2 separate regions of the Homo sapiens genome follow, and region 2 is linked to region 1. The links are contacts of gene promoters, found by promoter capture Hi-C in blood cells and fetal thymus (Javierre and others, 2016). All regions are on one chromosome and are shown on one strand. The core of a region is centred on a gene start or on the middle of the fragment in contact, and the rest is flanking DNA. Distances in the headings are between cores, read along the strand shown. Region 1 holds the start of ZC3H10 (zinc finger CCCH-type containing 10). Region 2 overlaps DCTN2 (dynactin subunit 2).

Region 1 (4,095 bases), core at 496-2,995:
ACTGGTGTCACCAGCTTGAGGGGAGTCTCAAAACCTGTCATATTTTAGTATTCCCTCCCAGCCATCATCACTGTCAACGGCAGAGAGGTAAGCCCCTTCTATTTCAGGATAGGAGTTCTAAGTTAGAGTCTCCACTTCTAGATTTCCTAGGACAAACCATTTGTGATAAGGTCAAGTGGGAAGGAGTTAATTTCACAGGAACAAGTGACCTTTCCCCATTCCCCACCCCCTTCCTACTCCCCTATGTGAAGATCCCACTGACATCCAACCACACCATTCCTCAACCCAGAAAGATCCTCTTTATTTATAGACTCCATAAAAGCTTTTTAAGTCTCCTATTTCCCAAGAGAGCTTTGGAATGTCAGTCCACTGCCCTGGTTCTAGCCCTCCCCTCTCTCCACCCCCAGTAAGACCTGGAGTCCCTGCTACCACGTGTCTGACCTCCCAAGCCTTTCCTATGCGGTGTTCAGGCTCCCCCTGCTGCTGAAATAGGAAAACTTCATATTGTTCCCTTTGAGAATAAGGGAATCTTTCCTAATTCCTTTGGCCTTGACCTACCCCCACCCCACTACTGTGACTTTGCCTTCAGATCTCCCTAAAATGAACTAACCAAACCAGAGGCCAGAGTTACAAGAGAATCTGTAAGAGGGTCCTCCTCCTCTAAAGAGAGGTAGTCCCAGAATAATAGAAGCAATCAAGGAAAGAAGTGGTAAAAGAAGATACAAACTTTTAGTAAAGGGGAATGACCAGGTGAAGTACAAATGCCATCTATCCAAGCCTGGCTCACGTTGCAAGTCGCACCAGCAGCAGATAATTAGTTATGATGCTCCTCCCCACCCCACTCTCCCAGAATTGATACCTGAGGTAGCTCAGGTGAAGTCCGGGGCTCCTGTGGGTCTCCACCTCCACATCACTGCTGGGTTCTGAGCAGGAAAAAAACAGAGACTTGGGTGGAAGAAGGAGTAAGAGTGGAGGACTATGGGGTGGTTGTCACAAGAAATCTGACAAAACGGCAAAGCTTCGAGAACGTGAGGATTTCCTCAGGGTTCAAACTGAACTTCACCTGTCCAAGGGAGAAGTTGCCAGTAAGAAGAGTAAAACTAATTCGGAGGGACTGGGAGGAGGGGTTGGAAAACCAGCCCTGAGTGAACAAAGAGTGCGGGGCGCCCTGCCTCAAGATGAAAGAGGATGTGAGGGTCAGAGCACCGCCAAGGGCTGGAGTTAGTAATGGCTAGTGAGGAACCTCAAAAAGGCAGCGTCTGACAGTGCATTGGGATGGCCGATTAGACTTGAAGGCAGTGATTGTGACGCTTCCCAACACCCTAGAGTTTGCGAAAGAAGTCCTAGGAGTTTTCCCGCAGCAAGTCTTCTAGCTTGGCAGGTTCCGTGCAGTGCCGCCGGCGCTCAGCCGTGGGCTACGTGAATGGGACACTAAGGGCGCGCGAAGTGAAGCGGGGAGCTGGAGCTCCAGGTGTCATCAAGCTGAGGGGATGGGCAGGGTTGTGACGTCACGAAGCTGGCGTTTGCTCGCGATGCGGGGTCACTCAGAAAAGGGGCACTGCCCTGGGGTGTGAGGACGAGCCAGCTCGGTTCTGGGGGGCCTTCTGTGGCCTGGCCGAGCCCAGCCGCTGGGCCGGCCCCGACTCCTCCCCTCCGGGCGCGGCCTCCACCTAAGTCTCCCGCCTCCCTCACCTGCCGCCGCCGCCGTAGTTGCTGCTGCCGCCTGCCGGTCCTCTAGCTTCGACAAAGAGCCGCCTACCCGATCGCTCTTCCGCTTCCTGCGGAAGAAGTGACGCTCTAGCCAGCAGACCCGGAACCATACTCTATGGTGTATGAAGTACGCGTGCGACATGCCGCAGGGCGTTCCCAGCACGCTTTGCGTGTCACTATGGCAACCCAACCCAAAGGCACGACATGGTCTAAGCGGTAGTCGCCAAGGCAGCCCTCCTGGAAAGGGGCGGTACCAGCATTGGCCCCTAATAACCCGCGAAACCTAAAACCTGCCTCCAGAGACGTACCATATCCCATCCAACTCCAGCGAGATGCAAACCACACCACGTAACCCGGGCTGTTGCCTTTATAGCTTTGATACCCTCCATAGCACAGGTAGTGACAGGGCAAACTCTAATGACAGAAAACCCCCACCCGATGGAACCATAAAAAACATAATAGACAAGATGATTTAATTCTTCAGCTAAAACAGCGGAAGAGGTGATTTATTATATGGTTGTTACACTCGGCCACAAATAAACACAGAAATAGTCCAGAATGTCACAGGTCCAGGGCAGAGGACCAACATGGGCATTTTGTTTATGAGCAAGGTGGGTCTCAGAGGTGATCGGCGATCAGAGGGCGATGAAGTTCTAGATCCATTGAGACAAGCTCTAGACAGTAGCATGCAGTCCCACAACTTGTACCAGCATCCCCAGCGTCTGGCATTCCATGTTTCTGCTCCTGTGGCCTCCACGGTGCAACAAGCTAGCGGTTTACTTGGACCTCTGCCTCATCTTTCTTCTTTTGCGCTTCAGCCTGAAAAGCAGACACAGGAATGGAATACACCTCAAACCAGAGTTGCCTTTCCCTCCCACATTAAATCAAACGTCCACATAAAGAATGAGGTGGTAAAATGAACAAGCACTACGGTTCTATCGTTCTCTGTTCTGTTAAATCCTGGCTCCAGGGAGAAAACACTCAAACGTTTTTCTCCTAAAGATCTTTTAAGATTTCCAAACCAAATGTTTCTCCTAAGTTTTGTCCAAGGAACTTCCCTCCTCCTGGGCTGGCAAAGTCTCAACGTACCTGCGCATTCGCTTCTTCCTCCACTAGCAACCGATCACAAGCAGCAGATAATTAAAAAAAAAAAAAAAAAAAAGGGATGAAGCTTATTAGTAGGCTTAGCAAGGATATGAAATGCACTCTTTAGAACCGGACAGATTCTTAACCAAGAAGTATGAAAGATTGGTCGTAACAACTACATCAGTAACTTGGACACCCTCCCAACATAAGATCAGAATTCCACCCTTTTCTAAGCCCACCCTCTCTACCCATAGCACTTAACCGCTAGCTCTCTCACAAACTACCTTCTCTCTCCCACCAGCTCTTGGGCACCCTTGAAACCCAGTAGTTCAGGAGGTATGGCGGACTTGCCTTCGTCTCCTCGCTACTACTCGCCAACTCCTACCTCCCAAGCTTACTACCAGGAACCGCTCACCTTGGCTCTCATGGCGCAGAGGTTTCTACAGGGAAAGAGAGAAAGGCTACAGTTAGTTTGCTGTGATGATGCTAAGTGCCGAGGTCAGATGTCTATGGATTGTACACGGAATCCCAACGCAGGAACCAAAAAACACTCACCCAAAAAAATGGCGCTAAGGCCGAGAGAAAGGCGAAGTTCCGTCTACGGCTATTTAATGGAGCGCCGGGTGTCGTCACTTCCGCTTTCACGCCCTTTGCCCCCCCCAAGGGCGGGGCTACCCAATGGGCGTAACAGTGGTTTTCGGACCCTCTTGTAGAAGGGTAGGTTGAGTTAGTTCTTTCGGAAGACCGAGTATTTGGTTTTCGAGTTACCAGTTCCCCCCCAGATTTAGTATGAGGACGCTGTGTTATTTAAACGTCAGCACCTATTTCCAATATTGGACCTAGAGGTGCAGACGGGGAAAAAATAGTGACCGCCACCTTCCCTCGCATTGCTTCTTGGGAGTTGCAGTTCCCTGGAGAAGTCCTCCATTTTGCTATGGATAGGCGCGGACTGTACAGAAATTCTTGTTTTACTGGTTTGCCTTCTTTTCTTTCTTTCTTTCTTTCTTTCTTTCTTTCTTTCTTTCTTTCTTTCTTTCTTTCTTTCTTTTCTTTCTTTCTTTCTTTTTTTCTTTTTTGAGACAGGATCTCACTGTGTCACCCAGGCTGGAGTGCAGTGACGCGATCTCGGCTCACCGCAATTTCCGCCTCCTGAATACAAGCGATTCTCCCGCCTCAGCTTCCCGAGCAGCTGGGACAACAGGCGCGCGCCACTTGGCTAATTTTTGTATTTTTAGTAGAGACGAGGTTTCGCTGTGTTGCCCAGGCTGGTCTCGAACTCCTGAGCTCAAGCGATCCGCC
Region 2 (4,095 bases), core at 409-2,908, 1.4 Mb before region 1:
AATGTCATGTCCGTGAGGCCTGGGATCTCACCAGCAGCCTGTCTGTTTCCTGCCTACCTGCCCAAGACCTAGTACAAGTGACAGTGCACATGACCTGTCTTGTGGCTGAACCATGAGATTTTCAGTCACCTTCTTTTTTTTTCTTTTTTTTTTGAGACGGAGTCTCACTCTGTCGCCCAGGCTGGAGTGCAGTGGCGTGATCTTGGCTCACTGCGAGCTCCACCTCCCGGGTTCACGCCATTCTCCTGCCTTAGCCTCCCGAGTAGCTGAGACTGTAGGCGCCCACCACCACACCCGGCTAATTTTCTTGTATTTTTAGTAGAGACGGGGTTTCATGTGTTAGCCAGGATGGTCTCGATCTCCTGACCTCGTGATCCGCCTGTCTTGGCCTCCCAAAGTGCTGGGATTACAGACGTGAGCCACCATGCCCAGCCTCAGTCACCTTCTTAACCCCTGACAACAGCATTCTCCGCCTTAATCTTCAGTTTATTTTCAACTTTAATTTTATCAGTTTTTAAAGTAGGTAATGTATGCACAGGGAACAGAGGATTCAAGGGTAAGTAGTGAAAAATCTGCCTCCCACCTCTGCCTACCACCACTCAGTTCTCTTCCCTAGAGACAACCAATATGGATAGACTCTTGTGGAACCTTTCAGGGGGTCTCCAGATTTCTTTTTGGTTTTTGAGACAGAGTCTCACTCTTTCCCCCAGGCTGGAGTGCAGTGGCACAATCTTGTCTCACTGCAACCTTTGCCTCCCCGGTTCAAGCGATTCTCCTGCCTCAGCCTCCCAAGTAGCTGGAATTACAGGCATGTGCCACCACACCTGGCTAATTTTCTGTATTTTTAGTAGAGATGGGGTTTCACCATGTTGGCCAGGTTGGTCTCGAACTCCTGGCCTCAAGTGATCCATCCATCTTGGCCTCCCAAAGTGCTGGGATTACAGGCGTGAGCTACCATGCCAGCCGGGTCTCCAGATTTCTGTCTAAAGGAATAGTCAAGTTGTGTTGACCCTCACTGCTCCATAACTTTCTTCCTGTGATTCCTCCACTGTGGAAGAAATTGGGCTACTAAAGGAAAAATGTCCTCAAACATCCCTTAAAGATTTAAATTGCTAATTTAACTTAAACATAAACATTTTCCGATTCCCATAGTGGGGAGGATGGGGGAGGAAAGCATAAAAGATTTAAATTTTGCTACAGATGATCGTGAATTTTTTTTTTTTTCAAGATGGAGTTTCACTCTTTTTGCCCAGGCTGGAGTGCAATGGCGTGATCTCAGCTCACTGTAACCTCCACCTCCCGAGTTCAAGAGATTCTCCTGCCTCAGCCTCCTGAGTAGCTGGAATTACAGGTGTCCATCACCACACCCGGCTAATTTTTTGTATTTCTAGTAGAGACAGGGTTTCACCATGTTGGCTAGGCTGGTCTCAAACCCCTGACCTCAGGTGATCCACTCACCTAGGCCTCCCAGAGTGCTGGGATTACAAGCATGAGCCACTGTGCCTGGCCAATCCTGATTTTTCTACTATCCCTTTAAAACAATTTTAGCAGGAAGTAAAATCTTCTAAAACAGGAATGGACCAGGAAAGTGCACGGGCTGTAGCCCTTTCCTCCTCAATCTGGGAAGATCTCTTTGCACTTCAGACACTCCCAGGTTAATTGGGGCAATAGGCTTGCTTGGAGATTTTTCTTAAAATGTTTGGAAAACTAATTCCCAAATAGAATTCCACCCACACACACACCCCGACCCTAACCCCTGGGCCCACAGCCTGCCTTGGGTCAGTGAGGCTTTCTGCTCATGGCTTTTGAACTGCTGGAATAAGGGAAGTAAATTAAGAAAAACCTCATTAGAAACAATTTAGCTTCTCTCTTTATGGCATAACTACCCGCAGTAAAAGGGGAAAAAATGACCTAGCCATAGTTTGATGGGGCCCTGGCAGAGGCTTCATTTCTCCAAAAGGTAGATATTACTGGACACTCCTGAGATGAGAAACAGTACTTCCTTACAGTTTAGAAGATCCTGGAGTATGCTTGATTGTGTTCATTGACTGTTGGCGCACTTGAACTTACCTGAGTTTTTCCTAATGCTTCCCCCATCCTCCCTCCTCACCACCTTGCCTGGACACTAGTTTGCACAAGTAAGACCATTCAATGCTTCTTCTCTGCATGTTTTTTTCATCTGCCATCTCGCATGCAATGCTCTGCCACTGTGCTATTGTTGTAGCTAATCGTTTTAAATTCCAGTGAGTCCCTGGCTGGGTCACTGAGGGGCCTGCTGGCCTTATGTTTAAAGATCATTAATCAAGGGTTAGAAACAGCTATGATCCATGAATCATTGTCTCTTCCCCTTGTGAGGTCTGCAGAGTAAAACTGTCCAGTGGAGGATGGGATAGAAGCATGGAGGCTTTAAATGTTTTTGAACATGAGGCATTTAGGGGCTGGAGTTAGAAGGCAGTTTCCTTTCTCCTCCTCAGACTAAGATCAAATGAAGATTTTTTTATGGAATGACTTTTAGCTATTCTAGACAAGGATAGAAAACAAAAGGGATGACAGCCACAGTCCTCAGTTCTTGGCTGTATGTGGATTATCTCTGGGAAAAACTCATTTTAATATTCCCCTATGCTAGGTCTTTAGAGAAATGTAAATGGGATGAGAAGGAGGTTTATATGCAATTGTAAGATAACTTGGATTATTTGTGCTTTTGTGAGTCTTTCTGTTTCTGCACCCCTCCTTTTGAAATGGATGGATGGTCAGCAATATATTGATCCATCCCGGACAGTTTTACTCTACAGCTCTGTCCATCTTCCTTGTCATCATGGTTTTGAAGTACCCTGGCTGCAGTGTTGGCGTACAGCCTGAATAGGCTCAGAGAGTAACAGTGGCCACTTTCCCTGTCTGATTTAGAACCTCAGATCTTGCCCTCTGAGGCACAGCCACTTAGCCAAACAGCCCTGGGGGGTCTGGGAGTCCCTTAGTGAAAGAGACTGGGAGTCACGTACTAGGTAAGCTGGCACCCGGGGCCAGGGCACTTGAAATCTTCCAATCAAGGTGACTAGTACTACTCCAGGTTATGCAGGAATCATGCCTAAAATCTCATCAACCTTCAACCCACCCATAGGACAGACCTGGAGGTGGTATATACTATCTGCAAACTAATATACCACTTTTCCTTTTATTTGATTTTCTGTCCTCCCTATTCTGCCCAATCCGCATGGTTTGAAATTGAGCTTATGGCCCATTGTCTTCTTTCTCTCCTTGAGTTTCTCCCAAGCTGGTTTTAGCTTGGTGGGACAAATCAGAGAAAGGTATAGTGTGTGTACTTCTCCTTTGTGTTTGCATGTTTGCACTTATGGGTGCTTACACCCACTCTATGCAGAGACATCCCAGCCTCGACCACAGGATCTGGAGCCACCTCTACCCTGAGCTGAAAGAGGAATTTTTTTTTTTTTTTTGAGACAGTCTCACTCTGTCACCCAGGCTGGAGTGCAGTGGCATGATCTCAGCTCACTGCAACCTCCGCCTGCCGGGTTCAACTGCAACCTCCACCTCCCGGGTTCAAATGATTCTCCTGCCTCAGCCTCCCGAGTAGCTGGGATTACAGGCGTCCACCACCATGCCTGGCTAATTTTGTATTTTTAGTAGAGATGGGGTTTCACCATGGTGGCCAGGCTGGTCTCGAACTCCTGACCTCAAGTGATCCACCCACCTCGCCCTCCCAAAGTGCTGGGATTACAGATGTGAGACACCGTGCCTGGTGGAAAGAGGAATCTTGGCTGGGACCCTAGCATCGTCTAGGGAACAGAGAGGTTGTGATTAAGAGGTATCTGGATGAAATCTTGGTGAAAGGAAGCACTTGTTTTTAATCCCACCATGGTTTTTCATATGCATACAACCATCCTCAACCATCTGCCCATCAGCAGAGCTCCTAGAAAGGCAGGACATACCACTGGATATCCCCTTCTGGCAGTTCTAAACCAGCCTTGCCCGGAAGTGGGAGCCTTATCTATGTGGCCCAGACTCAAATAAGGCCTCTTGGAAATACTCTCACCCTTCCCCTTTGTTTACCCTCCAACCCCTGTGAATCTTGTGAACAGA

What was found. Contacts are between HindIII fragments. The CHiCAGO score rates a contact against its expected background, and 5 or more counts as called.
Region 2: a fragment that was not itself captured here is called in contact with the fragment with the promoter of ZC3H10 in region 1 in 1 of 17 cell types (monocytes); the score reaches 7.1 in monocytes.

What each region holds. Positions count from the first base shown.
Region 1 is chr12:56,115,916-56,120,010 of GRCh38, reverse strand. ZC3H10 (zinc finger CCCH-type containing 10) reads right to left here and starts at 1,745. Exons shown (of 3, transcript NM_032786.3): 1 at 1,693-1,745; 2 at 860-923. It overlaps RPL41 (ribosomal protein L41), which reads right to left and starts at 3,378. Exons shown (of 3, transcript NM_001035267.2): 1 at 3,212-3,378; 2 at 2,800-2,822; 3 at 2,044-2,529. The coding sequence starts at 3,223. The coding sequence ends at 2,487. RefSeq lists a silencer at 2,021-2,070 and an enhancer at 3,737-3,786. The HindIII fragment of the contact is 1,863 bases long and covers 1,021-2,883 here.
Region 2 is chr12:57,539,407-57,543,501 of GRCh38, reverse strand. The region is part of intron 2 of DCTN2 (dynactin subunit 2); the gene reads left to right. Among named protein-coding and RNA genes, the nearest start is that of DCTN2, 5.7 kb to the left of the region's middle. The HindIII fragment of the contact is 6,101 bases long and covers 1-4,095 here.